Linked DNA regions of Homo sapiens: region 2 is linked to region 1. Evidence: promoter capture Hi-C in 16 types of primary human blood cells and fetal thymus (Javierre and others, 2016). All regions are on one chromosome and are shown on one strand. The core of a region is centred on a gene start or on the middle of the fragment in contact, and the rest is flanking DNA. Distances in the headings are between cores, read along the strand shown.

Region 1 (4,946 bases), core at 530-3,029:
TGGTGTGGACTTCTGCTGTGATAAGAGTCCATCCTCCCGGGAGGGAATTTACGACAATCAGTTTCTTTTGGAGGTTCCGTCTTTAGACAGGTAAGGGGAGAACGTCTCTCTGCATTTGCTATTTTTCAAGTGCCTCTCGCTCAAAATAATCAATATACCAAAGCGGCATATTTTAGGATGGCATATTTTGGTTTCATTCACTGTCTTTAAGTTTTTGATATTTTGTTCATTATAAACTTTTTTTGCATTCATTTTGACTTTTTAAGATATTGTATTAAAACATTATTTACCTTGACTACTGAGTTTTTTTGTCGCGCCCTTAAATTTTGCCCCTATGCGAGTGCCTCGCTCGCTTGCCTCCTTCTAGCCCGGGTCTGGCAGGGAGTTGAAATTATTTTTCTCACTGCTGAATTCCCAGGGCCTACAACAGTGCTCGCCAAAAAATTAATACTCTTGGTTCTTCAAATAAAACATTCTGTAAGGACTGCTCCCAATTTCTTCCTGAACTTCACGAACCCTCCCAGCCAGGCCACAGGATGTCAGGGGCAAACACCCTGAACCAACGGAGCTCAGGTTCCCTACCACCCCGCCCAAGCCCGCTCCAAGCCCAATTACCCTTCCCCTTCCTCGTCGTCCCATCCTCCCTGATGCCTCTTCCAGGGTGCTGGGCCGCGCGGCAAGAGCTCCAAGGCAAGATTCAAATGCCCTGGGGAGACGGCTGCGGGACACCTGCGGCGGGGCCCGGCAGGGAGCGCGAGACTGGAAGAGAGGCCAGGAGGGAAGGAGAGCGACGCGGGGTTTTGGGGGAGGGGCTGCGTGGGGCGCTGAAGGGGAGCGCGAGGAGTGGGAGGAAGTGAAGGAGGAGGAAGAGCACGGTGTGGGGGAAGCGCAGGAGGCAATAGGTGGGGCGGGACGGAGGGCAGGGCGCTGCGTCGGGAGAAAGTGTAGAAGCGCTGGGGAGAGTGCCCACGACGGGAGAGCCCAGGGGCGCGAGGGCGCGGGAGTGTGGGCGGGGCGCAGTGGGGATGGGGGCGGGGGCGCGGGATGTGGTAGGGGGCGTAGTGGGGAGAGAGTGCAGGAGTGTGGGCAGGGCGCAGTGTGGGGAGGGTGCGGGAGTGTGAGCGGGGCGCAGTGGAGGGAGTGCAGGATGTGGGCTGGACAACCAGTGGGAGAGGGCGCGGGAGGTGGGCGGGGCGCAGTCGGGATGGGGGCGGGGGCGCGGGATGTCGGCGGGCCGCAGTGAGGGGGAGGGCGCGGGAGTGTGGGCGGGGCGCAGTGGGGGAGGGAGCGGGAGTGTGCGCGGGGCGCAGTGAGGGGAAACTGTGGAATGTGGGCGAGGCGCAGTTGGAGAAGAGTGCGGGGATGTGGGCGGGGCGCAGTGAGGGGAAACTGTGGAATGTGGGCGAGGCGCAGTTGGAGGAGAGTGCGGGGATGTGGGCGGGGTGCGGTGGGGGAGGGTGCGGAGATGTGGGCGGGGCGCAGTGGGTGGAGAGTGTAGGGATGTGGGCCCAGCGCAGTGGGGGACAGTGTGGGGATGCGGGCGAGGCGCAGTGGGGGCGGGGGCGGGGATGTGGGCGGGGCGCAGTGGGTGGAGAGTGCGGGATGTGGGCGGGGCGCAGTGGGTGGAGAGTGCGGAATGTGGGCGGGGCGCAGTTGGGGAGCTTGCGGGGAATGTGGGCGGGGCGCAGTGGTGGGAGGGCGCAGGAGTGTGGGCGGGGCGCAGTTGGGGGAGGGTGCAGAGACCTGAGGGCTTGAGGTTGCCTGGCTGGCCCCGCTCCCAGAGGCGGGTGCCGCGCTGTCGCCCAGGTATCTGGGGTCTCTGGTGTCTGAGTGTCTCATTGTCGGCGCGAACACAATTGCTCCAGCCACAGGCGAGGCCTGGCCAAGGTGTGGGCGCATCTGGGGCAGGTCTTGAGAGGTCCAGCGCCCGGTGGTGCGGACAGAGGCGGGGCACCGCGGCGCTCGCCGCCGCCTCCCCGCAGGTGATCATCCTCCTGCAGGTGTCCTCGGGTCTCAGGTGGCTGCGTGTCTGCGCCATGGTTGACATTCTGGGCGAGCGGCACCTGGTGACCTGTAAGGGCGCGACGGTGGAGGCCGAGGCGGCGCTGCAGAACAAGGTGGTGGCACTGTACTTCGCGGCGGCCCGGTGCGCGCCGAGCCGCGACTTCACGCCGCTGCTCTGCGACTTCTATACGGCGCTGGTGGCCGAGGCGCGGCGGCCCGCGCCCTTCGAAGTGGTCTTCGTGTCAGCCGACGGCAGCTCCCAGGAGATGCTGGACTTCATGCGCGAGCTGCATGGCGCCTGGCTGGCGCTGCCCTTCCACGACCCCTACCGGCAGTGAGTGGGGGTCCTGGGGGGGCGGGGGCCGCCCGGCACGTCTCCCCCATGTTCCCCCAGGCCTCCCCCTCTGCACTGGGGAGCTCTTTATGACGCCCCCCCCCAACACCTCCCCGTCTCTCGGTTCACGTCCGGACTCCGGTAAATCACACTCAGTCTCAGTTTCAACCTCTCTTGGAGACCAGGGAGGGTGCAGACCAGATTCGAAAACCCAGGGCATCGGCACCCCAAGGGGGCTCGTGGAGCATGGACGCGGGCGCGTTTCTGCCTGGGGTCTGGAGCTCCGGGAATCTGCATTGCGAAGGAGCTCCCAGTGGTGGTGATGCTGTGAGTTCGCGGGCTCGGCTCCGGGAACCGCCGGCCCAATCAGCCCTGGACTCCCGGCGCCGCTGCGTCATCCTCCCAGTTAGTGGGCAGGAAGCACAGGGACATGACCCGGTGTCTGGATGCGGGGATGAGGGATGACCCGCGAGGACATCAGCTCTGTGACAGGCACCCACAGTGCAGGCCGTGGTTGGTTTGCTGGGAGGGAGGGACGGGGGCTTCAAGGCTGGCAGGAACCCAGGTGCTGGCCACCTTTGCGGTTTCATTTTTACCGACACTGATGGAATTTCATCACTAGAGAAGCATAAAACTCATTACTATAAACTTTATTACTCTAACTGTTGCAAAGGAGGGGGTAGGGATTGGCAGAGAGGGGATTACAGGGATTGATTGTTCTGCTTTTGGGGTGGGTCTCCTGTGGTCTCCTATGGTGTAAGAGTCCAGACTTAGGTTTAAAGCAGGCCTCGTCAAGTATGTTGTCCTGGCCACCCCCTTCTAGGTACCAATGTGAATTTCTGGGTTTTGCTTTACAGCCTCACATTTCTGGAGATTATCATTAAGTTGTGGCATTACCCCCTAAACTGATTATCATGAGATGACATTCCTTCTGGAAAATGAAAACTGGAAGCTAACTTTGGAAAGTTTTGTAGATGAGTAATTAATGGGAAGAAATCTAATTATTCCCCCAAACATGATTTTTGGTGATTCCCAGTGAAAGAGGAGGCCCAGGCAGGGCACCGCCCAGCCTTCCAGGGGGGTAACCTGCTTCTGGGAGCCTCACTCACACCGGGACTCTGAAAGTTCTATTGATAATGAATCTCCAAGATGGGTGGTTCACTTTGCAAAAGGATTTCTTACAGAATCAGTTCAAGTGGTGCTTTTAAAAACAGGATTGGACTTGTTTAGTACTCAAGTTATTTGTAAGCTTTTGAAAGAACGCAGGTTTGAAAGCGAGAGACGATGGCAGTATCATTATAGTAATTAGGCACAAAGCTCTGGCCCAGCTCTGGGATTTACTTGCCAGGTGATGGCAGGCAAGGTATTTTATTGCTGAGCATATGATACATCACGTGGTTGTTGTCAGGGTTGAGCTGATCACATATGAGCTCATGTGTCCGCTGGTTATGTCCCAGCTCTCTAGTCTATTGCCCCATTTTACAGATGTGCCATTGAGGCATAGAGTTCAGTTCTCCTGGCTCTGAGGACCCTCTTTCTGCCGTGCCCTACTTCCTCACTGAGGGGGTGGTGAGTCTTGGTCCCCAGCGGCACACAGATTGGACTGGGGAGGTCATCGCTTGGGGCCATGGAGACTGCTCGTCTGTTTCTGATGCTCTGGTCAAGCCTGTGAGCTCCAGCTGGAGGCAGTGAGCTGCGTGACGTGGGTCAGCTGTGTGCTCCTATCTTCTCAGCCTGGCTGGCCTGGGAGGGATTTTTCTTTTTGTAAACTTAGCTGTTTGTCCCTACCCCTTTCCACACTGAACTTCCTTAACTCTGTTGTTGTCATGTGTAAGCTAGGTAGTGGGATATTCTGTGGGAATTGTTGGAGCTACGCCCTAAATTCTGCTTATCCTACGTCTACAGGACCTTGGTGTTCCCATCTGATTGGCTCTTGGTTCAAAGACCAATCCGGTTTAGCCATGCCTTGCTCCAACTCTCCGGGGGTTTCCTGAGTTTCCATTGCCCACAGGACAGAGCCAGACATGGTTCAGTGCCTGGCATCCCCAGGGAGTGTGTTTGGTGAGTAGTTGAAGCAAGTGAGCAAAAGACAGTTCTGCAGAGAGATTTGCTTGGCCACAGCCTGCTCCTGGCTGAGATGACAGACTAGAGTCAGGAGTTGCCATGGCAACCCAGAAGTGTGGTTTATGCCAGCAACAAGGATGTGGCTGTGTTAGTTGAAGGCAGGGACCAACGCTGGTTGCAACAGTGCTGAGGACAAGGAGGAACTGGGCTCTTGGATTTTCCCCAAATGCTTAAAGTCCTAAGTTATTACCATGACAACATTCTCTCCTCCAAAAGCAAGTTCTTTTCTCTGTGGACACAGCTCAGGGCCCAGAGGGGATTGAGATGACATTAGGGAAAAAGTGAGGTTCTTTGCCTCTCATGTGCAGCTCCAAGGTTACATTTGTCCCCAGGCAGAGGCTGCCAGCATGGGGATTTGAGGGCTGGTACTGAGTGTCTCTTGGAATATCAGTGAAATGACCACCTCCACCCTCCTGATTCCTCAAAGCCCAGCCTGCTCTGCATCCCCCTGACTGTGTTAGAGCTTGATTTAATGTTGCAAGTG
Region 2 (4,707 bases), core at 1,106-3,605, 570 kb before region 1:
GACAATATTTGGTAGAGATGCTGTAATGAAGAGAACAGCATTGTTTAGCTTTGTATCATCTATAATAAGTCCAGTCATCAGTAACAGCTTTAAGCACAGGCTTAAAGGAACTGAAAGGTGAGATGGTAGGAATCAGCATCCCTTCTTACCCAAGTCAGTCCCGACAGGCTGGCACCCTTCAGTGTCTTGTCTTAGGCAGCACAGTGGTGTATCTACCACCTCAACTGGATAGAGGAAGGCTGACCGATTCCCACAGGGAACCCACCCACCAATAGTGTAAAAGTCTTAGGCTTGTTGCTGCTGACTGAGGAGGTCCATTCAGTAGTGGGAACAAGAGAGAAGTATTTCTTAGCAAAATGGAACTAACTTTATTTATTTATTTATTTAGAGACGGAGTCTTGCTCTGTTGCCTAGGCTGGAATGCAGTGGCACAATCTCAGCTCACTGCAACCTCTGCCTCCCAGGTTCAAGCAATTCTCCTGCCTCATCTGAGTAGCTGGGATTACAGGCACACGCCACCACACCTAGCTAATTTTTGTATTTTTAGTAGAGACAAGGTTTTGCCACGTTGGCCAGGCTGGTCTCAAACTCCTGACCTCAGGTGATTCACCCACCTCGGCCTCCCAAAGTGTTGGGATTACAGGCATGAGACACCATGCCCGGCCCTAGGGACTAACTTTAATAGTTAAGTGGCTTATTAATCTTCCTTCCAAGCCTGTCACCTCCTTGAAGTGTCCCTTTAAAGCATGAGTGCTTCCTGGGTTAGGGAGATTTGAGCATCCACATCCAACAGAGCCAGGCTGTGGTGTTTATTTTTTGGAACCCAAACCACAGTTAATGGAATAGGGTGATTGTCTTTCAGGGGAACCTGATTCCACAATCACCAAATCCCTGTGTAGGGTGGGTACCTGCCACTGGTGGAGATCAGGGGCAGGCACAGAAGGCGGGGATGGCTTGAAGGAGATACCATAATCTGACCCTAGTAAGAACTGTAACTGCCCCACGGGTTTCCCAGAGATCATCCAATTTGGGACCCCCTTGTTCCTTAGGTTCTAGTATAACCTCTCTTGTACATCTTGGCAGGAGCATGGTTGTAGGTGGTTTGTTTGGCTTGCGGAAGGGAAGCAGCCTCATGGTCGATGGCAATTTTAAAAAGTCAGGCCCAGATAGGGAAAGAGCAAGACCCTGAGATGTGGGATTAGGACATTTGAGTGGGCAATCAGAGAATTTTGACCTCCCCGCTTCAGATTTCCTGAGGCCTCCTGATGGTCTTACATGAAGTATATGGGAGCCTTGGCTCTGTATGGCCCTAGGCCCTACTATAGCCTTTGCAAGGGGGAGGCAGGTCAGGCAGCATGGGCTGTGCCACCCTCTTCTCTCACCTGTTCCAGGGTGTCTGATGCTTCTTGCAGACAACTCTGGGTGCCCCAAGAACAGATGAGTCATAATGATAAACAATTTATCGTCTTTTAACCAATATGTGGGGGGTGGGGAGGGGTGGGCATGAGGCCAGGGGAGCATCCCTTGTCCCCAGGAGGGAAGCTTTGAATGGTGAACCAAGACTGGGGACTCTGGTCCCCACCTTGAAGCCTCCTTGCTTTGAGTAAGGCCACATTTCATGAGTTTTGGGGACCGTGACCTGCCAAGGATGGCAGATAGAGGGACGCAGTCTCCTGGGCCCAGGCCTGCCCAGTTTCCTCCAGTCCTACCACCTGGAGCAGGAGGGCCCAGCACCACGCTTGGCCTCAGGGCTCTTTCTCATGGGTGACCAGGTGACCACTCAGGTCCTGGAGCCTGGCCATCCCTGCCTCCTTGTATGAATGAGGGTGGTGGCTGGCCTGCCTACTCCTGCAGCCTCATCGCCAAGGTGACTGGTTGCTATTCAGGCCCCCTAAGGTCACTGACTTGGCCTTTTGGGGTTTGCACAGGTCCCAAGTAGCCATGCACTGCTCTGAGAGGGCTCGCCCTACCTTGGGCTAGATTCTAGTACTGGTCAGAGCTACAGGTGGCTCAGTCCCTTTGGTGATCACCTTGGCTGCTGGGGGCCCCAGGCTCGGGTTGAGGCCAGATCAAACCCCTCTGGATCTGGACCTTGTGCCGTGTTAGGGAGTTCTGTCCCACAGGAGGTCAGCATGAGGACACAAGACATCCTGCTGGCTGGCCAGAGCTATGAGGATGCCACACCCCCTCCCCTCCAGAGGCCTCCAAGTAGCCATCTTCCCAGTGGACGGTGGTTTCAGCTGGCTGAGGGGCCATCCGGGGCTTCTGGGCAGCTTGCGGGGTAGGCTGCTGTCCTGGCTCCTTCCAGAACATGCAGGTCAGTGAAACTGACAGGGATAGGACATGGGCCACTGTGAAGGGGAGGTGTCTTCGGCTCTTCCTGTGGATCTTCAGAAAGCTAGGCAGGGGTTGATGATGGGCCCCAGTGGGGTTGCAGGGCCAGTCTGTCCATGGTCCGGGAGGTAGCCAGGGCAGATGCTGAAGGGATGGGGGCCCAGCATTCCTGCCCGAAGCAGTACTGTGGGAACCAGGGGCCCTGACGTCAGGGTCTATGGGGAGGTTTGGGACTGAATTCCATTGCAGTAACCACCAAACAACTGGTGGTCTGTCCTGGGCTGGGGACAGGCTGGCCAGACCCTGAGCTCCTGGGGCTCCCAGAGCAAGGCCTGTGGCCCCAGGCTCTTTGGAGACCCTCATGCCACTAGGGGCCTCAGCCTTGGGAAGAGCCTGGCCAGGCAAGGGTCAGGGAGGACCACACTCCTGTTTTGTGGGGGCTACCCCTTATGGGGAGGCATGGTCTCACTCTTCGTCACCCAAGCTGAGTGCAGTGGTGTGATCACAGCTCACTGCTGTCTTAAGCGATCCTCCTACCTCAGCCTCTCATGTAGCTGGCACTACAGGCGCATGCCACCACACCTGGCTAATTTTTTTTGTAGAGATGGGGTCTTGCCGTATTGCCGAAGCTGGTCTCAAACTCCTGGACTTAAGCAGTCCTCCCACCTCGGCCTCCCAAAGTGTTGAGATTACAGGCATGAGCCATCACACCCGGCTGATTTTTCCTTTATTTTTGAAAGGTAACACAAGAATCATTATATAATTTTCATTTTTCTAATGTCCTTGTTGAATTTTAGTATCAAGACTACTGCTGGTGTCACAAAATAAGCTGAGTAAGCTTTCTCCTGTATTCTCTGGAATCGTGACACTGTCCATTTATTAAGTGATTGACTGGTAGAATTTAGTAGTGAAGCTATCTGGGCCTGGAGATTACATAATGAAAATATTTTAATTTGGAGGTTCAATTCCTTTTTAACAGTTTTAAGACACTTCAGGGGTTTGTTTTTTATTATTGCAAGTCGAATTTTTCTATGGATTTGTCAATTTTACCAAAATTTCGCATGTATAAAGTTACTTCTAATATCCTTAGTCTTTTGAATCCTATTCATTTCTAATATTGATAATATTTGAGATTAGGTACGTACAAATTTGAAAAATTTTACCAATGAACTGAATATAATTAGAACTGAATGTGTTTATCACTAGTAATGATTTTTGCCTTGAAATTGTATCTTATATTAAATAACAGCTCTTTGCCTTAAAATCTATTTTCTTTTTTTTTTTTTTTTTTTGAGACAAGTCTGTCACCAAGGCTGGAGTGCAGTGGCACGATCTCGGCTCACTGCAACCTCTGTCTCCCAGGTTTAAGCGATTCTCCTGCCTCAGTCTCCCAAGTAGCTGGGATTACAGGCATGCACCATCACACCCGGCTAATTTTTGTATTTTTATTAGAGATGGGATTTCACCATGGTGGCCAGGGTGGTCTCGAACTCCCAACCTCGGGTGATCTGCCCACTTTGGCCTCCCAAAGTGTTGGGATTACAGGCATGAGCCACTGCACCCGGCCTCTGTTATTTGATATCAAATAACTACACCAGATTTTTGGTTTGTGTATGCACGATAAATCATTTTTTCTCCTTTTACTTGCAAATGTTATATACATTTTAGAGTTCTCTTTGAAGTTCTCTTAGAAGCTTACAGTCTGCAGAAGATGTGGCTGGAGAAATAAACAGAGGCCATATCATGAAAACATCAGACTTTCCTGAAAGCCAAGAACGAGGGTTGAGTATGTTTTCTCTCTCCACTAAGTGCTTGAAGGCCAGCATCTGTAGCAGTGTTAGTCACCCTGAGTGCTCACAGAAGAGTTTATCCACATGAAGCATAAAATAAACATTTTAAAAATAAAGGGAGCCTGGGGCTGGGCATGGTGGCTCACGCCTACAATCCCAGCACTTTGAGAGGCCCGGGCAGGCAGATCACGAGGTCAGGAGATCAAGACCATCCTGGCTAACATGGTGAAACCCTGTCTTGAGTAAAAATACAAAAATTAGCCAGGTGTGGTGGCACGCGCCTGTAGTCCCAGCTACTCGGGAAGCTGAGGCAGGAGAATCACTTGAACCCAGGAGGCGGAGGTTGCAGTAAGCCGAGATTGTGCCACTGCACTCCAGCCTGGGCAACAGAGCAAGACTCCATCAAAAAATAAATAAAATAAAAATAAAGGATGGCTAAGAATAAGTTTCTCTAGTCTGTTTTTATCCTTGAACCACAATCATACTCTTTATTATTATACAAACTTTTAAATATTGGTATCTGATACCGTAAGTCCTTCCATCATTTCCTCTTCTGCATCTGGTTCCACTTCCTTCCATGTAT

Evidence for each region. Contacts are between HindIII fragments. The CHiCAGO score rates a contact against its expected background, and 5 or more counts as called.
Region 2: a fragment that was not itself captured here is called in contact with the fragment with the promoter of NXNL2 in region 1 in 2 of 17 cell types (erythroblasts and monocytes); the score reaches 5.2 in erythroblasts.

Annotation. Positions count from the first base shown.
Region 1 is chr9:88,533,399-88,538,344 of GRCh38, forward strand. NXNL2 (nucleoredoxin like 2) reads left to right here and starts at 1,780. Exons shown (of 2, transcript NM_001161625.2): 1 at 1,780-2,338. The coding sequence starts at 2,037. LOC105376134 (a long non-coding RNA gene) reads right to left here and starts at 1,142. Exons shown (of 2, transcript XR_007061653.1): 1 at 616-1,142. RefSeq lists enhancers at 1,566-2,400, 2,401-3,234. The HindIII fragment of the contact is 6,313 bases long and covers 1-3,585 here.
Region 2 is chr9:87,961,858-87,966,564 of GRCh38, forward strand. It overlaps CDK20 (cyclin dependent kinase 20), which reads right to left. Exons shown (of 8, transcript NM_001039803.3): 8 at 4,584-4,707. Among named protein-coding and RNA genes, the nearest start is that of CDK20, 10 kb to the right of the region's middle. The HindIII fragment of the contact is 1,630 bases long and covers 1,541-3,170 here.